Regions from separate parts of the Homo sapiens genome. Here region 2 is linked to region 1. Evidence: promoter capture Hi-C in human tissues and cell types (Jung and others, 2019). All regions are on one chromosome and are shown on one strand. Each heading gives the region's core, a stretch centred on a gene start or on the middle of the fragment in contact. The rest is flanking DNA. Distances are from core to core; before and after follow the strand shown. Region 1 overlaps CCDC61 (coiled-coil domain containing 61). Region 2 holds the start of RSPH6A (radial spoke head 6 homolog A).

Evidence for each region. Contacts are between HindIII fragments. The study calls those that stand out against the background at their distance.
Region 2: the fragment with the promoter of RSPH6A here is called in contact with a fragment that was not itself captured in region 1 in 1 of the 25 tissues and cell types used here (hippocampus).

The regions. Positions count from the first base shown.
Region 1 is chr19:46,005,913-46,009,663 of GRCh38, forward strand. CCDC61 (coiled-coil domain containing 61) reads left to right here. Exons shown (of 14, transcript NM_001267723.2): 4 at 647-804; 5 at 2,228-2,389. Among named protein-coding and RNA genes, the nearest start is that of MIR769, 11 kb to the right of the region's middle. The HindIII fragment of the contact is 8,240 bases long and covers 1-3,751 here.
Region 2 is chr19:45,813,145-45,816,895 of GRCh38, forward strand. RSPH6A (radial spoke head 6 homolog A) reads right to left here and starts at 2,164. Exons shown (of 6, transcript NM_030785.4): 1 at 1,383-2,164. The coding sequence starts at 2,032. SYMPK (symplekin scaffold protein) reads right to left here. Exons shown (of 27, transcript NM_004819.3): 24 at 3,654-3,751; 25 at 3,338-3,433; 26 at 2,707-3,039; 27 at 2,266-2,553. The coding sequence ends at 2,416. The HindIII fragment of the contact is 35,300 bases long and covers 1-3,751 here.

The sequences.
Region 1 (3,751 bases), core at 921-3,420:
ATGTGTACTTCCCATTTTCTTGCTCAACATAATAAAGAGATGTGTGCTCTAGGGGCTGAATTCAATAAAATTAATAATTTTTACTGCTTCATCAAGAACATTCCGATGTTTCATTTCCTGTGTTTTATGGTTGATTTGCTTATTTACTTGTTTGTTTATTTCTCTTCCCCAGCCCCCCACTGAGACTGGGGAGATACAATAACCTCCAGTACCATTCGGTGCCAGGGGCTTGATTTCTCCTAAGGCACCAGCAGTTTTTCCCACCATTGCTTTTGTACCATTCGCGCACATGTCAACACAGTGAAAAAGACAAATGACGTCTTTGTATTATTATGAAAGTAGCTTTGACCTCAGTGGAGATCCCTGAAAGGGTCTCGTGGACCCCCCAGGGATCTGGAGACAGCACTCAGAGAGTCACAGGTCTAAGCTGTTCTCTCTGGTTGAGCATTTAGGTTCTTTCTGGTTTCTTCCTTCGATGAAGTCCTTGTGTCTGCCCTAGGACAGGGCCATGTTGATTGCCAGCCTTCGCGTAGGAAAGCCTAGCCCGCCTAGAGAACGGGAAGGGCTGTGGCCCAGGTGTGTGCTAGGTGCCCTCCGTGTGGCAGTGGCGGGTGCTGTGGCAGCTCCTCCTCTCCTCTCCTGACAGAGTAGTGAGTCAGTCACCCTGGACCTGCTGACCTACACAGACCTGGAGTCCCTGCGGAACCGCAAGATGGGGGGCCGCCCAGGCTCCTTGGCCCCCAGGTCGGCCCAGCTCAACTCCAAGCGCTACCTGATCCTCATCTACTCCGTGGAGTTTGACAGGTGGGGAGAAGGGTCTGGCTCCAGGGCCAGGCTGGTGGGCGGGGTGGGAGAGGATGTGGGTAGGCCTTAGGAACCCCTGGCACCCAGGCAAGGTGATATTGGTTAAGCCTTGCCTTGGGAATCTTCCCTGTTGGGGTTTGTATCATTTAGTATTGTGTTTGGCTACAAGTAGCAGAATAACCATCACCAGTGCCCTAAACAAACAATACATCAAACAAATAATACGTCACGTAACAAGATGTCTAGGTAGGTGTCTGCCACCTGTTTAACAGTTCCACTAGGGACTCAAGCTCTTTCTTTTTTATTTTTTTCCTTTTACTGTCGTTAATGTGTTGGCTTTTTTTTTTTTTGAGATGGAGTCTCACTGTCTCATCCAGGCTGGAGTGCAGTGGTGTGATCTTGGCTCACCGCAACCTCTCCCTCCCAGGTTCAAGCAATTCTTGTGCCTCAGCCTCCAGAGTAGCTGGGACTACAGGCACCCACAACCACGCCTGGCTAATTTTTGTATTTTTAGTAGAGACGGGGTTTTGTCATGTTGCCCAGGCTGGTCTTGAACTCCTGGCCTCAAGTGATCCTCCTGCCTCAGCCTCTCAAAAGTACTGGGATTACAGGCATGAGCCACCACGCCCGGCTTGGCCTTTTGACTTCATCTTTATCTCTTCATGGCCACAAAATAGCTGCTGGATCCTCCAGACATTGCATCTATATCAAGGCAGGAAGAAGAGGGACAGGGCTGAGTTTGTTAATTGCCTTTGCTGTTTTTATCAGGAAAAAAAAAAGTGTTCCCAGAAGACTCCCAACAGATTTCCTGTAATATGTGGCCAGAGGTGGTCACATGCAAGGGATGCTGGGAAAATGAATATCTGGCTTTCTAGCCTTTATAGGGGGAGGGTAGCAAGAGAGTTGGGAATGGCAGTTGTGTAGCTAGGTGACCGTGTCTGTCCCATGTGTTAGTAGCCACTGGATTTCTTAGTGGAAAGTTACCAATCCTCTGTGAATAGCATCTCATGGGGCCGTTAATCACAATGGCTCACCTTTCCCCAGCCAAGCCAGGGTCACCCAGGCCAGGCCAACCAGAATGCCCCGCTGTGGCATCTGAATTAGGATTGCGTTTGGCTGCAAGTAACATGATACCAGCATTCCCTTCATCAGCAGTGGGTGACAAGGAAGTTCCCCCAGACTACACCAGGGCTGCCAATCCCAGTGGTCCCCAAATTGTTATATAAGAGGCTTTCACAGGTGGTGACTGGAACAAGGGGTCCGGGTACAGGGAGGGGCCTTGAGGATGTGCTCATAAGCCTCTAGGACAGTGCAGTTTTTGGAATTGTGTGTTTTCGTACTCTGTGGCTCTCAGAGGCTGCTGTTTACCCTCAGGTGCATTCTTGGCCTCTGAGATGCCACGGTTTTAATCCTCCCTCCTCAGGATTCACTACCCGCTGCCCCTCCCGTACCAGGGCAAGCCAGACCCCGTGGTTCTGCAGGGCATCATCCGGTCACTGAAGGAGGAACTGGGCCGCCTGCAAGGGCTGGATGGCCAGAACACTCGGGACACCCGGGAGAATGAGATCTGGCATCTGCGGGAGCAGTGAGTCTTGGAGGGGTGGGCAGCTGGGGCGGGTGGGGGCCCTCCCATCATGCACCGCGGGGCCCATGCTCGGTCCTGTGGGGAGGATGACTGTCCTTCGCCCACCACGTATTCTTTTTTTTTTGAGACAAGAGTCTCACTCTGTTGCCCAGGCTGGAGTGCAGTGGTGCGATCTTGGCTCACTGCAGCTTCCTTCTCCCGGGTTCAAGCGATTCTCCTGTCTCAGCCTCCCAAGTAGCTGGGATTACAGGCACGCGCCACCATGTCCGGCTAATTTTTGTATTTTTAGTAGAGAAGGGGTTTTGCCATGTTGGCCAGGCTGATCTCAAACTCCTGGCCTCAAGTGATCTGCCCGCGTTGGCCTCCCAAAGTGCTGGGATTACAGGCATGAGCCACTGCGCCCGGCCTCTGAGCCCCTCTTCTGTACCTTTGTGCTGGGTGGTGCTGGGGACATAGTGGTGACCAAGACTATCTTGGCACTGCCCTCCTGGGACTCTGAGTCCAGGGAGGGAGGCAGATGTGTTTGCAGACAGTGAAGGCTCTGGGTGGGGTACCTGACCCTGCCTGGTACGGGAGGGGTGTTCTTGGCAAAGGGAGCAGCATGTGCAAAGGTTGGGGGGAGGTCGAGCTCTATGTAGGCGAATCCACCTTCATGGGGTGCACCTTTTGTGCTAGCCCCTCCCTGCCACTCACGTAGTGCCCAGCCCTGGGGGAGATGGGTGCTAAGTATATAACCACTTGAGTATATCATTACAGATGGAGATGAGTAGGGCAGGAAAGGGAGCCTGTGCTGTGGGAGGCTGTCACAGGACTCCACTGGGGTGTAGGGTGGGTCAGGCCCAGGGGCTGGGGAAGTGTTGTAGGCAGAGGGAACAGCCTGGGCAAAGTCCTTGTGTTAGGTGGGAATGCGGTGAGAACAAGGGAATGAATGAAGTGAAAGAAGCAAAGGCCTTTGGCATATATATTCATGCCTGCCTTGTGCTTGGTTCTGTTGGGGAGACGAATCTGGGGCTTGATCGCTACCGGGAAGAGGCCTGGCTCGTTGGGGAGGACTAATAATATTTTTAGTAATAATGTTACCAGTAACTAATGTTTATTGAACATTTAACTGTATGCCAGGGCTGCTCTGTGCTTTATGATTAAATTCATTTTATCCTCACAGCCACCCTACAAGGTAGGCACTGCTATTATCACCGTTTGACAGAGGCCCAGAGAAGTTAGGGAACTTGGCGCAGGTCACACAGTGGGTAATATGGCTAGGCTGGACCTTAGATCCAGGCAGCCAGCGCCGAGCCTCTGTTGTTTCCCCAGCTGTTTGCACTGTTGGTGGCTGCAAGCCCAGGACAGAGCGCTAAGTGCTGA
Region 2 (3,751 bases), core at 914-3,413, 190 kb before region 1:
GCTCTCCCTCTTCCTCCCTTGGTTCCAGACACACCAGCCCCTCCTTACTGCTCCTCAAAAACAGCAAGCCTCAGAGCCTTTGCATTTGCAGTGTGCTCTGCCTGGCTCACTCTTCCTCCGGTCATCTGCAAGATGCTCTCCCTCGACTCCTTCAGGGCCCTAATCAAATGTCACCTCCTTGGACAGGCCTTCACTGACCCACACAATTTATTTTTTTGAGATGGAGTCTCGCTCTGTTGCCCAGGCTGGAGTGCAGTGGCACGATCTCGGCTCACTGCAACCTCTGCCGCCCGGGTTCAAGTGATTCTCCTGCCTCAACCTCCCGAGGAGCTGGGATTACAGGCCCATGCTACCATGCCCTGATAATTTTTGTATTTTTTAGTAGAGACAGGGTTTCGCCATGTTGGCAAGGCTGGTCTCGAACTCCTGACCTCAGGTGATCCGCCCGTCTTGGCCTCCTCAAGTGCTGGGATAACAGGCGTGAGCCACCGCACCTGGTTGGACCCCCACTATTTCATGTGTTCCCTAGCCCTCTTAGCCTCCCTTATTTTTCACCTGAGTCCTTAGCTTCAGTTTATCACTTTTTCTGTTTCTTGTCCACTCTCCTAGAATGAGAGCATCCTGGGTATCTAATGGAGGCTGAGAGCAGTGTTTTGTGACTGTAGCTAAGTGGCTTTGGCAAGTATCTTCCTCAGGCAGGGAGGTTTAGTTGCAGGATAAGAGGGTCTCAGGAGGGCTGGGCACGGTGGTTCATGCCTGCAATCCTAGCACTTTGGGAGGCTGAGATGGGCGGATCACTTGAGGTCGAGTTTGAGACTAGCCTGGGCAACATGGTGAAATCTTGCCTCTACTAAAAATACAAAAATTAGCTGGGTGAAGTGGAGCGCGCCTGTAACCCCAACTACTCGGGAGGCTGAAGCAGAAGAATCACTTGAACTTGGGAAGGAGAGGTTGCCCTAAGCCAAGACCACGCCACTGTGCTCCAGCCTGGGTGACAGGGTGAGACTATGTCTGGGGGAAAAAAAAAGCAAGAGGGCTTGGGGAGCCAAATCACGTGTTCTGGAATCCTGACTCTGCCATATCCTAGCTGTGTAGTTTTGGGTAAGCGACCCAACTTCTCTGTGTCTCGGTCTCCTCCTCTGTAAAGTAGGATGAGCTGATGTGCTCATCTCCGGTGAGAATTAGGTGAGTGTGTGCAGTGCCAGCACATGTCTGGGAAGTGAATGCTAGCTGTTGTTGGCATTGATTCCGACTCAGCTGAATTAGAGTCACTGGTTTTCCATGAGGGATGATCCCTTGTCTGACTGACTGAGGCAGGCACTTCGGGTGGGGCCCCTCCCTGCCTGGGTCCCCCACCCGCCCCACTCCTAGCCCCTGCTCACAGGCTGAGGTCGCAATTGATGCTGGTCTGCAGCAGGTAGGCCTTGGCGTTCTGCACGGCCAGCTCCAGAGGCTCGGGCTCAGGCACCTGGGCACTGTAGTGTGGGAAGCCCAGCTCAGAGGGCAAGAACTGAAGGGCAGGGTCATCCCTTATGTAAGGCCCGTGCTGGGCACCTTCAGAGAACTGGTCTGTCTGGTAGAGGTTGAACTGGCCCAAGGGGTTGACTGGGGGCTCCTGGAAGGTGGGGTCCAGTTGCTGGAACAGGCTGCTTTGGCCCTGCTGGAGCCGCTGCAGCATTAGGCTGGTGGTGAGCTCGGCGACCTGCATCCTGCTTTCATCAGAGTAAGGCTGAGGCTGGAACTCTGAGGGAAAGCCCGTGTTCACAGATGGGTACTCCATGCCACCCAGCCGGGCTTCCTCAGCCTGGAAGACCTGGGGCATCAGCAAGTTCTCCTGTTGGGACAGGCTGCCCCTCTGTGACCAACCAGGGGCGTTTCGCTGGGCGTCTGGAGGTATCTGCTGCCTCTCCTCGGGGTCCGCTGCCAGGGCCTGAGCTTGGTCCCGACTGTGCCGCCTCTGGGAGGCCTGAGAAGTCCTCCGGCCCGGAGGCTGCTGGGCAGGGCGCTCAGGGTAGGGCGGCAGGTCTCCCATGGTTCGCCAGGAGGCACAGATCTCTAGGAGAAAGGCTTGCAGACAAGGAGGCCAAGCGAGAGCCACCTGTCGACACCGCCGGTTTCTGAGCACCGAGAGAGGGGGCCGTTACCCGTGGAGGGCGCGGGGAGCGGGCCAGGGTGGGTTCCGCGCAGGCTCTGGGCGCGCACTCCCGATCCCGCGCAGCCCCACGGTGGACGTCGCGCCAGACTCGAGACGGCACCCGCGCCCCAGGCCCGCCATCCCTTTTTTTTTTTCTTTTCAGTAACTTGCCCAAGTTCACATCTTTTATTTCTTTTTAAGGCAAAGCACCCGCAGGTCAAGCCCCGCCCCGTCCCCCAGCCCCGAGTCCCTGTCCCACCCCCTTTCCCCCTCGAGCCCCGTCAGCTGTTCCCCTTGGCCTCGGGTTCCCTGGCGTCCTCGGCAGCCGGGCTGGGAGTCTTCATAGCATCTTCTCCAACAGGTGCGAGGGTCTGGGGGCTCCGCTCCTCCTTCAAGGTCAGCCCGCCCGCTGCCGTCTCCTGGTGACCGGGGAAGGAAAGGGCAGCCGGGTGGAGGGCGCGGTCACCTCCACGCTCCCCTTCAGGCCCTGCCCCCTGATGGCCCCTCCTCCCCCACCTTCACCCCGGCCCAGATCCGGCTTCTTCCTTCGCAGCGGAGGCTGCTCTCCCTACCTTGGGTAGGGGGCCCTCGAGACTAGAGTCCAACAGCGCGGCCTCGGTCAGCCCCGAGTCGTCATCCATGCTGATGAAGATGCCCGGGGTCTCGCACTCAGGCCCCTCCTCCCGGAAATCCATGGCTTCCTCAGACGGGGGCGGGCCTGGCCGGGCCGACGGAGAGGGAGAGGGGGAGGAAGAGGAGGGGGCTCCCACTCCTCCCGGCTTCAGCTTCTGTTCCTCCTCCAGCTGCCGCTTTAAGGCCTTCTCCTGGGCCAGTCGCAGGCCGATGAGGTCCTGAGGGGGCCGGGGTGCTGGGGCCGGGGCCAAGGTCAGGGGCTCCAGATCATCCTGGGGATAGGGAGGGCCACACAGAAGCTCAGAGGTGGGTGGCTCAGAGGACGGCCGGAAAGAGAAGGAACCACCCTGAGGTGGTCTTTGAGTTCTTCACCAAGAGCATGGGGAGGAAGGGGCAGTTGTCCCCCAGACCCCCAACTCCCAGCAGGAGCATCCCCTGGGAGACGGGTGGCCCAGAGGCAGGGGTGGCCTGAGTCTCTCGGGGTCAGGAGGAGGCCATGGTGAGCCTTGCTGGCTTGGGGTAGGGGGTGGGAGTCTGGGGATCCAGATGGGTGGGCTGCAGGGCCCTCACCTCCTCCAAGGGCCCCGCAGGCGCCTCCTTGGCCTCTGGCTCCTGCTTGCCGCTGGCCTCCAAGATGGTCATGATGGAGTTAGGGATGTGAGCTTGCTGGGTGGAGAGCAGGAAGGGGGCGCTGGGGGCAGCTCTGGCACAGAGACCCCATTTGCACACCTCAGGTCCGGGGGCCCTAACCCTCCAGAACTCCCAGCAGTGCAGGGCCTTCTTGTGTCCGCCTCCATCCAGTCCCCACCAACCAGAGGGACCCAGGGGGCCGCCCACCGCACACCCTGGGTGGGGGGAAAGGGTACCTGGTGGGGGGAAGGGGTACCTGGTGGGGGGTGAAGGAGCGGACATGGGCCAGCAGGGGCTCCCGGAGCTCTGGGCACTTGTCAAAGACGGCTCCCAGCTGCTGGGGCGGCAGCTGCA